Regions from separate parts of the Homo sapiens genome. Here region 2 is linked to region 1. Evidence: promoter capture Hi-C in human tissues and cell types (Jung and others, 2019). All regions are on one chromosome and are shown on one strand. The core of a region is centred on a gene start or on the middle of the fragment in contact, and the rest is flanking DNA. Distances in the headings are between cores, read along the strand shown. Region 1 holds the start of ONECUT1 (one cut homeobox 1). Region 2 overlaps LOC107983981 (a long non-coding RNA gene).

The links. Contacts are between HindIII fragments. The study calls those that stand out against the background at their distance.
Region 2: a contact is called between a fragment that was not itself captured here and the fragment with the promoter of ONECUT1 in region 1, in 2 of the 25 tissues and cell types used here (dorsolateral prefrontal cortex and lymphoblastoid cells).

Annotation. Positions count from the first base shown.
Region 1 is chr15:52,788,165-52,794,247 of GRCh38, forward strand. ONECUT1 (one cut homeobox 1) reads right to left here and starts at 2,172. Exons shown (of 2, transcript NM_004498.4): 1 at 616-2,172. The coding sequence starts at 1,720. It overlaps LOC105370824 (a long non-coding RNA gene), which reads left to right and starts at 2,266. Exons shown (of 2, transcript XR_001751550.2): 1 at 2,266-4,525. RefSeq lists enhancers at 2,168-2,462, 2,459-3,227, 3,228-3,995 and a silencer at 2,210-2,279. The HindIII fragment of the contact is 12,558 bases long and covers 1-6,083 here.
Region 2 is chr15:52,856,970-52,862,915 of GRCh38, forward strand. The region is part of intron 1 of LOC107983981 (a long non-coding RNA gene); the gene reads left to right. Among named protein-coding and RNA genes, the nearest start is that of ONECUT1, 70 kb to the left of the region's middle. The HindIII fragment of the contact is 4,821 bases long and covers 1-4,703 here.

The sequences.
Region 1 (6,083 bases), core at 922-3,421:
CGTCCTAACCCTTACAACTCGTCTGTGCTACACACCCACCGCCCAATGGCTCTGAAACTTTTTGCCCATACTCTTAGATTGAGGTCACCCCAGCCAGCGCCAAAAGAATGAGCGCGGGAGGGGGTCACAGCAGCCAGTTCGGCCAAACATCGACGCTGCTCCGGCACGCTCCAGCCCAGCGCCTGGGATGTGTCAGAGGTACCTGCGAGGAACATTTGCGTGCGATTCCACGCACGCGTTGCATCCCTCTTCCCAAACCCGGATCGCTGAACTGAGAGGTGGCGCAGAGTGTCTCACCAGGTGCGGGGATTTCTCTCCGCCTCAGGCCGTACGAGCTTCCCTCGCTGTCCCTGAGCGCAAATGAGCCTCTTCAGTCGCCGAGGCCCGGCCGCTTAGCTCTCGGAGCCTTCCACAGCCCAACACCCTGAGCCCTGGAGTAGGCAATTTGCTCCCACAGCCCTGTGCTGGCCCTTCCAGGCACAGGGAGTCCCCCTTCTAGGGGTAGGGGCGGGCGGGATGAAGCGCACCCAGCCCTCTCTCCTACCCTTCCTCCTTTGGTCCCTTCGGCTTTCGTGTACCTTATCTCCCGCGCGCCCAGCTCCTTGGCCGGCTCACCTGCTAAGCGGAGCGCGGACATGCGCTGGAACTCCGGCTCCTGCAGCCACTTCCACATCCTCCGGAAGGTCTCCCGGCCGGATTTGAGTTTGCTCCAGGGTTTGGGGTTGCGCAGCAGGTCCGAGAGGGTCCCCTGGGAGCGGCAGAGCACCCTCTGCGCGAAGATGGCCTGTGGGATGCTGTAGCGCTTGAGCTCGGTGGTGATACGCTGCGCCACCTCTTTGGTATTGATCTCTTCCATCTGCCCTGAATTACTTCCATTGCTGACCTGCGCGCCGGTCACCGAAGGGTTGGGCTCCCGGGCTGTGCCCAGGAGTTGCCCGTGGCCCTGGGCGTTCAGGTGGGCGTGGGGATGGTGCGGAGGAAGGCCGTTGATGGGCACCATGCCGGCCGAGGTGGGCGTGAGGTGCTGCTCCCCGTGGCGGCCGAGCATGGCCGGGTGGTGGGCTTCGAAGCCGTTGGGGGTGAGCATCTTGTCGGTGGGCATGGCGGCCCCCGGGTGGGCATAGTGGGGGAGCCCTTGCTGGGAGTTGTGGATGCTGCCCAGACCGGAGCTGGAGAGGGGCGAGAGGCTCTGGCCCATGCCGGCCACGTCCTTGTGGTAGGGGGTATAGAGGTTATTCATGGAGGCCAGCCCGCGCTCATCCCGCATGAGCGTGAAGCTACCGCTCACGTTGCCCGCCAGGCGCTGGTGGTGGTGCGGGTGGTGGTGGTGATGGTGGTGGTGGTGATGGTGGGGGAACTTGTCCGAGACTGTGGAGATGGGAGGCAGCGGCTGCAGAGGGGTCAAGGTGGTGTAGGTGGTGGGCATGCTCATACCTGGGGGAGTCTCGCAGGCCATGGTCATGGTGGGATGCAGGGGGCCGGCCAGGCTGTGCTCAGGGGCCCGGTGGTGGTGGTGGTAATCTCCGCCGCCGCTGCCGCCGTCCAGCAGGGACGCCATGCCCATGGAGCGCGGGTGCGCGGGGGGCAGGTGGCTGCCGCGGTGCGCCACGGAGCTGCGCGCGTGGGGGCTGCCGCCCAGCAGGTCGGCAGGGGCGGGCACCGGCTCATGGCTCACCCCGTGCAGCTCGCCGATCGCTTCCATGGTCAGCTGCGCGTTCATCGTGATCCGGGCGAGCAGGCGGCGGACACAACATCGATGTGGCCAGGCAGAGGCGGCGAGGGGCGCACGGAGTCCGGTCTTCACATCGGCTGCTGGCGACTGTTGCCTTCCTTCCTCTCACTGTGGGGCTCTGTCTCTCTCTCTCTCTCTCTCCGTGTGTGTGTGTCCGTGTGTGCGTGTGCGTGTGTGTGTGTGTGTGTGTCTCGCCTTCCCTCTTACCCCCCACCTTCCCCTCTGCGTCCTCGGCTTTTTTTTTTTTAATATTAATTTCCAAAGAGGATCCGCGCCGTTGGGAGAGCGCAGTGCCCCAGCCCGCCCGCCTCGGCCACCTCTCGCCCCTCTCTTTCTTAAAATTCTGAGGTCTCCGGCTCCCCTGCCGCGGCCCGCGCGCCTGCCGCGTCTGCTGCCTGCCCGCCCCGCTGGCCAGCTTGAGCCATGGCTCTGTTACTGTTACAGACTCTGTGGCCGCGGTTCGGTAGCCGCCGCCGCCGCCGCCGCAGCGGCCCGCCCTCACGCCCGCCAGGCGCAGCGCGCATGCGCGAGGCCCGCCCCCGCCCCCTAGGTCGCGGCGCGCCAGGCCCTTGGCGTCCCGGTACAAATGAAGGAGGGGGCCCAGCGCCTTCCCTGCGGCGCTGGATGGCCAGGGAGCTGCGGGCACGTGCGAAAGATTGGCGCAGAGCGCGACCTGGGGCCGCCGCTGCAATCCCAGGAGACTCGCGCCTGGCTCGCTCGCCTCCCTTGCTTGAGTGGGCTCTGTCCTCCCAGCCCGGGGACGCTCGTGTCGGGCTTCTAGCGGCTGGAGTGCTGTGCTTGGAGACATCGCCCCTCTCTCTCCAGTTGCTGCTTCCCGGTGCAGCTTGCCCGGGGAGCTGGGGACTGTGTCATCACCCCTTCGGCTCTAGCCCACTAAGCTTTATTTCCCGGGGGGCTGCTGGGAGTGCGCTTTCCCACCCTTGAATTCACGGCCTATTGGGGGATGGGGGTTGGGGTGGGGTGGGGTGCAGATTGCTTAAAGGGCTGGGTCCGTTTGGCGGCCGTTGACCCGGCACCCTTCGTCCTCCCAGATACATACTTGCCCACCCTTTCTCATCCATGCCCTGGGGAGAGGAGTAATCAGTGCCAAGAATCCCAGTTCGGGCCATACCTCACTGTCCCCCGCCGCCTGGCTCCTTCTCCCGCTCAGCTCATAATTAAGGCTGTGCGTCCGCTTCGCCGATGACTCGGCCTGTGGAGGGGGGCGAGGGAGAGCGGAGGGAGTGCCCTGGAGGGTACCCATGTTAACTTCCGGGTGCTGGTGGGGCCGTGGAGGCTCGGGCCGTCCCTGCGGTTACTCCCAAGGCCCTCCTGCTAAAGCACCCGGAGGCGGTTGCTTTCCAGAAGTACTGACGCAGACAGGGTGGACGCCGGCGCGCGGGTCTCCGCTTGGCCCCTAGGGACGCCCTTTTCCCGGCGTCCCCGAGAGACGCCTCCAGATTTGAAAATCAATTCAGCTTCGGGAGTAATTTCGCCCTTCCCACAGTCACGCTCCAATCTGGAATCGAACCTGGTCTTTGGGCCTGGTGGGGACGTGTGCGGAGGCCCCCAGTTTGAGACGTACACCCGGCCGCCACATGCCGCGGCTTTCTTTCATTTACAAAAGAAAGAAAAAAAATCCGCAACAAAAGGCAGAGCCGTGTCCGCTTAGGTGCTTTCATCCCTCAGAGAAAGGACAGATGTGCCCATTGTCCAGCCCGTGGCAGTTATGGCCGGGTCAGCGCCGAGCCTCAGCCCCAGGCAAGCGGTGGTTACAATGAGAATAGCCTCTCAGAGCCGGGGTATCTGGACTCAGATATGGAATAAAGTGTGTGTAGCCTGTGCTGGGCCAGACTCAGACTGTAGGTTTGCTTGCTGGGGCACCGAACTGCAGCCCACCCGTGGTGTTTCCACTGCAAATGCTCCCAAGCCCTTAGAGAGGCCAAGGCTGTGGTAGTGGTGGTAGTTGGGTTTCCAAGGCAAAAGTTTGGGCTGGCCAACCCTTTGGGAAAAGTTCCCACCGGCCCAGGCATGAGTAGGCCTATCTCTTTGCCCAGGTCCCTGCTACCACCAGGGCAACATCCTAATCCAGGTAGGTCAAGTTCAGTGGATACAGTCAACGTGACTTCCTTGAAGGCGGCCATGTCCTGGGACTGGTTAATCTAGCTGGTTTTATCACCAGAGGCACTCCCATCCTGTCCAAACAATGCATATGGAGGCCCTGCAAATAATTCATCTCAATGGATTTCATGTCTACTTTCATAATGAACAGTTAGGAATTTAGGAACCCCCAGAGAAGAAAAGATATTTTAGGGAAAATACACTGATGTAAAGGAACTCAGAAAACACGATTAACTCTTTAAACTTGTATCTATATCTACCTATTCATACACGCATACACACAAGCACAAAACATATATTTCCTGCCTAGTATATTACAGTACCTTGGTGGAAAGCTGCATCTTTGGTTTTTAATTGTTTCCATTCTCATTTCCTACAGCATGAGACCAAACAATGGGTTAAAGTAGCAGGGAGTCTTTCAGCTAAACAGTTGTCCCCCCGCCCCCGCCCCAATATTTTAATCCCGCTGAAGTGATTGATTTGCCCTTATGACAACTATCTTCCCAAAAGGCAGTTTGTTAAAAGAAAGAAAGAAGTAAATACCACCAAGTGCACAAATTGTTCATGGTTTTCTCTTTGTGTAGCTAATTAGGAACTTGATCTTGGAAACCCTCCTTCATGAGAGGCACTCAGCTGAGCCTCTGGAGTCCACCTGAATAAGGCTGGCATCAGGTGAGCTCAACTTCCCCTCTCCCCCAAGGGCATTTATGAAAAGGGGGGCTGGCTCTGTGTTGGTCCCTAAAGAAGGAGCCAACGAAAAGACCTGGAGAAGCACCATATGTGTTGGCTTGCTCAGTAATTTTTGATTTTTTTCTAAAACATTAAAATATTGTATGTGCAGGATTTGCTTTGGTTTGCAAATCTCCCTAATCTTTCTTGGCTATTCACACCATTTATCTAACCATTGTTCTCCCGTAATTGACTGAGTTGCAGTGGTTTCTCAGTCAGAAACAACATATTACTGTGTTCTTATTTGACCTCTCAAAATTTTTCTTCTTACTAAGGAAGTGACGGGTAGGAAGAATGCTCTTCTTAGGCCTAGTTAAGGTGAATTTGCATGTGTGGAGGGAGGACGGGCACTAGAGAGATTGTTAACTGCTGGAAGGCTGGGACTACTTTCTGTCGTTTTGTCCCTCTCCTTCTTTCCCCCTTCCAGTGCCCAGAACAGAGCCTGGCACCCATTAGGTACACTATGGGGATTGAAGGAATTAAGAGTCCACAGAGGAGTCCCTGGAAACTTGGTAGGTGTAGGTCAATGTGTGTGATTGAGGAGGAGGACTTATTTTTAGCTGCTTAGATTTTGAGTAGCTGCAGGAAATTTAAAGAAAAAAATAGTGTCAATCACTAGCAGAAAATTACATAATGTATATATGTAAGAAAAAAGGAAATAAGACTATGACTGGATGCTTGTTGCTGACAATATTTTCAGAGTGAAAACAAGGAACTTAGGATGTTTATTTTGTAAATGTCAGGAGAAGAACCTGGGATATGAGATGGACAGGGGCAATCCTTCTTTTGCTAGGTAGGCTAGAGCTTACCACGCTGCCCTACCAGGTTCAGCAAAGAAAAAGCGCAAAGAGAATAAAACCATTCCTCCAAATACTGGCCACATGAGCTTCTCTGAAAACCTTCCATTGGTTTCAGAATTAATGCTTTAATTATTTTTGTGAGTAGTAGAGGCGTAACGTATGGCCCAGTCCCAGTTCTCAGGACCATTCCAAAGAAATGTTTCTAGCTCCTCCGAACCATGAAATGTCTACTTCCCATTTTTTGGACTCACAAAGAGCGAGATCCTGGGTGTCAGGGCAAATTCCTCCACCCAGGGATCCAGGGGGAGGCTGGCTCCTTGGCTAGAGCCCCAGGGCATATTCACTGGCATTTCTGATGCCTGTAGCTAGTCTAACATTAAACTTGTGGGGAGGAACCATTTCTTTGGTATCTGGCTACAGTAGAGCACTAGATAGCTGGAGAGTGAAAGACTTGGTCCTGGGTGCTTCCTGGCAAGCTCTCCTGTTCCACTTCTAGAGAAATTTTATTCAGAAAATTGCTGCAGGCTTAGAGTAGAACACCAAGAAATTCAGAATGGGGTGGCCTGGTGACTCACTATTGAAAACCATTAAAAAAAAATCACTCAATGACTTCTCTCCACTCTCTGGGGACCAAGGAAGTGGTAACTAATTATGGTAGCCCCTTGCTTCAATCTTTGATACTCTGTTTAGCGTATCATTTT
Region 2 (5,946 bases), core at 1,043-3,542, 69 kb after region 1:
ACCCCATCTCTACTAAAAATACAAAAATTAGCTGGGTTTGGTGGTGCATGCCTGTGATCCCAGGTACACAGGAGGCTGAGGCACAAGAATCGCTTGAATTCAGGAGGTGGAGGTTGCAATGAGCTGAGATTGTGCCACTGCACTTTGGCCTGGGTGACAGAGTGAGATCCTGTCTCAAAAAAAAAAAAAAAAAAAAAAAAAAAAAAAATTCCAAGAGTTGATATTTGATAGAGGTGAAGCTGGGAGATGGATACATGAAGTTCATCAGACATTCTCTCTGCTTTTTGTATATGTGTGAAAATTCTCCTAATACAAAGTTGAAAAAATGATCTTAAATTTCTTGAAATGTTGGTTTATGGCTCTGAATTGAAGTGACTGGATGTGACTATTGTTAATGATCTTACATTGTTTAATAGACAAACTCACATCAAGTATCTTTAGTGTTAATTTTACATGGATCTCAAAAAGGATTCAATGCAGGCTCTTTTTTTTTTTTCTTTAATCTTTAGATTTCTCTATCCACAAAACCACTGGTTTTGGTGTCGGATGTAAGCTTAGATCAGCTCCACACTGCCTAAGGGAAGCTTTACATTTGATGTACTTACCTAGGGTATTGTTTGGTACTTCAAGAAAGCCAGACTCCCTCAAACCCTCCCCCTCATCACTCTGGAATTCTCCTGACAATTGTGGCTGTGGAGAAAGGGAGGCAGTGCTCACACGACCCATCCCATCGACACGTACGGTGTTTTTACGCATGCCTCATCCTGCTTGAGTTTTATTCCTGTTCTTCAAAAGGCTCTCTCGATTCAGAATGCAAGACACCCATTACTTTTACTAAGGCTGTTCTACACATCAAGGCAGACCATGGCATGCAAAAAAGGTTTATGGCATAACAGGAAGATTAAATATCTCACACGGTTCAAATTCCAAAAGGGTTTCATGAATTTACGAATATTAAGGAGAGCATGCTTAGGATGAATTCACAGAACGCAGTGTTTGGCTGATTAATATGCAAGACTACAATCCACGATGGAAGAAAAGTGGGAACAAATTCTTGCTTTGATTGTGGTGAGGTCAAGACCCAGCATGTGGAACCAGCGGGAGAGAAAACAGAGAACAAAACGGTGGAAGAAAATGCTTAGAATCTAACTTATGACTCATATCTTAGAAATGTTTGGAAAGAGAACATTTTTGTAAAATGACAGACATCTAGCAATGGCAGAGCCATGGGAATCCCCTTTAATACGAGATGGCTCTGTTTAAATACACATGGAGATGAATATGAAACATGGAGATGGTTAGAGTAAGTCATGGGGTAAGAACAAATTGAGACCAGCCACTCAGGGCCACGTTTCAGGGGCTGTGACTTGAAGTGGCTGAGATAAATACTTAGATCACTCAACTGGGGATTATAATGGGAGTGCTGGCAACCCTCACTAATTAGGATGCTCTCAGGCAGCTCTGTAATAGCTTCGGGGAGCTGCTGTCAGTAAACAGTGTTATATTCGGGGGTTGCTGCATCGGGCGCCTCTCCACACCACAGAGACTTCACTTGCTTTGCTCCTAGCAGTCATCTTGCTCCCAGCTCTTCAACACTCCAAGGAACTCAGTGCCCTTCTCCCAGAGACGCAAAGAATTCTGAGTTTACCTGCAGTCTCCTCCGCAGGCAGAGGGTGAAAGATGACACCTGCAAACACACAACTAATTATAACCCTATTTAGTTCCTGTGGGCGAACCTCTCCGTCCATCCCTTTTGCCCTTTCCCACATTTAATTCCTATCTGGTGAGGAGGAAAGGATTATTTCTGGAAACCAGCCTTTCCCCTCCAGCTCCCCTCAGCCGCCAAACACAGACGAATCATCCTGTGGTAATTAACAATCTCGTCTTTAGGAGTACATTTTATGGTACTCTTGGTCAGGTAAATTCTAAATTAGCTCAGTTAAAATGGGTCATAAGACATAGCGCTGCCGTCCCTATTAGCTCCTGGACCTCCGCCAATGTACCGCACTATTTTGGGAGCTGGGCTTCTGGCAAAAGGAATCATTACCCAGAGATTATGTGCAGGGGGGATCTGTGTGGAGGACACGCAGTAGTGGCACCCTTCCCTCCTGGCTTCACTCGCAAGTTCTGGGGTAATACATGAAGAATTGGAAAGAATTAATTTTGGGAAGGGGAGCATATAGGGGTGCTGAGGGAGAGCTCAGTGAGGTGAGGTCGCTATCCCTGTGGTCACCCAGGCATGGGGCAAGTCTGCTGCTAGGTTTCCTTTTGAGATTCTCAATGGCCCTGAAGAGGATAGAGGGGCTTTGCGAACACCTCCAAGAGGGGTTTACTGCCCCAGGCCATGCATAGGAGGATTTAGTGGAAAGAGGTTGGGGGCCCTAGGATCTTCTTGGAAAGAAATATCTGCCTGCCTTGGGCAAGTCACTTTCCCTTCTCTGGTCCTGTTTTTTCACTTGTCAGTTGAAAGGACTGGGCAAAATGACCTCTGAGAGTCCTTTCCATCTCAAACATCTTGTGACCCTTTCTGCAAATCAGTGGAGTTGTCCTAGGGTGTTTGCCTGACTCTCTGGAGACAACCGTGGGTTTTGTTTAGGACACAGTTGCCTCTGGTTCTGAGAGCCTATCTTTTTAGGATTTCTATTTTACTGGCAACTTTTGATATTCTGAGCTCCAGGGAAACAAGGAATTCAGAACATAATCCATTGTGCTCTGAATGCAAAGAGAAGATTACTTACCTTTAGAAATATATGCAAACAAATTTTTTTGAGGATCTACAGTATGCCAAAGCAGTTTGCTAGGAGCACGTGTATGTGTACTGTGAGGATAAGGGAGGGAATAGGTTACTGCGATTAAACTAGATACCCTCTCTGTCCTTAAGAAGCTTGCAAGCTAAGGAATACTGATGTGGACTCAAAGAATTCAAGAAATATAGAGGGAGGGTTGAGTTTGAGTTGACTATGAAATGTCCAGGAGAAAAAAAAATGAAATTGGAATGAGAGAGACGAGGAGCAACTTTTAAAAACATTGTGGCGGTAGGGTCCTACCTAGATCTAAGATGGAGAACATTTGGGGCACTGGTATCACTAGGGATTCCATAGATTTATGTCCTTTGGGTATAATTTATTAAGCAAGGGAGCCTGAGAAGTGTAATTTTAAGCCTCTCAGACTCTGTGATATATGGCTGGGGAATGGGAGGATGAATGTAGGAAGGGAATTGAAACAGTGCTTCAGCAATAAGGAGTTTAAATTGGATCCACAGGGCAATGAGAAACCACTTTGGGGCACTGAAGTATGGGCTGGCATACTCACCATATCATCATAGCAAACAACTGGCACAGTCAGAAGGTGTGGAGACGTCATCAACGTTACAGTTTAATAAAATGATAAATAGCTCAGATCACAAAAGATGAGATATGCAAAACTTTGTGAAATTTTAAAGGGAGAAAAAACAAAAATCTCATCCACATTGGAATATATACAATATTTATTTAAAAACACTCATATACAGATCCAAAGACACACAGTTAAATTAAAAAGAAAAAATCCCAGCTACCATTTAAACCTCTTTCTGAGGAAAAGGGGAGACCAAATGGCTCCTTTGGGTTCCTTTATAATTATAAATACACCATTTCATAGTGTCTTTTCCCCATTTATTCTTTCCACTTGTGCGGTCACAGTTGTAGTTGCAAAGAGCAAAGTCCACTGTAGTTAGTTTAAGGAAGAAAGGAATTAATATAAAGGATATTCAAAGCAGGGAGAAAGACACTTGGGGGCAGGCTTCTAGGAGGATCACTAAACTGTAGGAACTGGCCTGATGGTTAAGCCCTGAAGCTGTTGAACAGATGCTGGGAAACCCCAATTATTGCACCTGCTGCAGCTACCAGCCCTGCTGCTAGTTTTGTGTCAGAAATACTATCCCGAACTGCCAGAAAAACTCTACCACCAAAATCTGCATGGCTCTGCCATGTCTCTCCCCAGGAACGAGAGGTGTCCCCCTCAGCGCACCTCACATATCACATACTTTCAAGACACAGTGTCACGTTTGTGTGCCTGATTAGCAGAGCCTAAATCGCAGGCCCATGTCCTCCCCGCAAGGGGACTGGGCATTTGCATTTAATTTTGGAGAGGCTGGATTCACAATGTAAGGATTTCCGCAGACAGAGGAAGTCTATTCCAAAGACAATGGGCACTGTGTATGTAGTAGATGTTACTACTCCATCCCAGGTAGCTTCTTGTTTCCAAGTATGTGAAAGAGAAGATTGTGGGCAAGGAAAGAGGACAGGAAACTTCTATTGAGAGGCTCAGTGGTAGATGTTGTGGCTGTGCCACCCATATCCATGTGATATGGTTTTGCTGTGTCCCCACCCAAATCTCATCTTGTAGTTTCCATAATCCCCACATGTGGTCTGAGGGACCTGGTGGGAGGTAATTGAATCACAGGGGTGGTTTCCCCCATCCTATTCTCATGATAGTAAGTAAGTTCTCATGAGATCTGATGGTTTGATAAGGGGTTTTCCCTTTGCTTGGATCTTATTCTTCTCCTTCCAGTCATCATGTAAAGAAAGACGTGTTTGCTTCCCCTTCCACCATGATTGTAAGTTTCCTGAGGCCTCCCCAGCCATGTGGAACTGTGAGTCAATTAAACATCTTTCCTTTATAAATTACCCAGACTCAGGTATGTGCTTATTGGAACTCACCATATTGAGGTGCTGCTGCCACTCCCAGCTGCCACTGTCTGCATAGCTTAGCCTGAGAGAGTACTCTTGGAAGCCAGAGTGGCAGTACTGGGGAAATTAACACTGCTCCTTGCAGCTGTCAATAAATTGCTGACTTGCCCCTTGGGTGGGGTACCCCAGAGGCTCCTGTTTTACACTGTGCCCCAGAGTTCTCCCTGGCTTTAAGCCCTAGTTGTCCACAGTGGTAGCTGGCTTGGTAGCAGACCCTCTAGTGGCTTCCTTCTCTTCCCTGTCTCACTTCCTCACTCACCACTGGTTTTTTCTATATTTCTCAAATACACTACCTGTGCCTTGTCTTGGATCTGCCTCAGGGGGACCCATGGTCAAGCTGACTTACTTTGCCGTAGGTGCTCTCACATTTATTATGAGTAAATTCTTTGAGCATCATCATGCAGTAGTGATTAAAGAGGAAAGCCAGGCTCACTTCCCAGCCTTGGCCTCCACACAAGGCTTCTCCCTCCCTCCCTCCCTCCCTCTGAAGTCTGTGTGGAGTGGGGCTGCTCCCTGGCAGGGCCATGCCCCCAGGTCTTCAGGCTCTGCATCAAAAGCCCTCACAGCTTCCCTTTGCTGCCCCCAGGATATTTCAGGCTGGAGAAAAATCACTCCTAGGACTATCCTTTGCACAAATTGGTGCTGAAATACTTTAAAGGGGTTCAGCTTACCTCTCTCAGAGCTCTTCTCTGCTCTTTTTGAGGTGGCAGGAGATGAAAGAGAGTGAAACAGAACATTTGTGAGCCTCTACAATGCCAAGAAATATAGGCTTTCTGCCTCCTAAGACCAGATTCCCTTGCAACAGAGGGAGGTAATTTCCAGCTTGCTCTACAAGAAGAAATAAAGCAATCATCGTTCCATCAGTTTTCTAGTGTAGAGTTCTTTCAGGTGATTTTGCATCCAGCATTGCTGGTGTCAACAGAGCCTTAGCAGGGCTGAGCTACCTGCAAACCTTTACAAAGGATCTCGGCGGGAGCACTGGCAGGAACTCTTTTCTCAGAGTCTGCATACTCTATCAAGATCAGAACATTTTGTACATGGTTTTGGAACATGGAATGGACCCCTTCAAAGCATGCTCCTATAAGAGTGGCTTGAAAACATGGAGAAAGAAGTGCTCTTTCCAAAGTTGTTCTCTCTCCAGGGCCTGGCTCTTGACTGGCTCCAGCTGCCGACGGCACTCTCACCCCTCCATCGGCAGACGGGCTTCCCACACTCC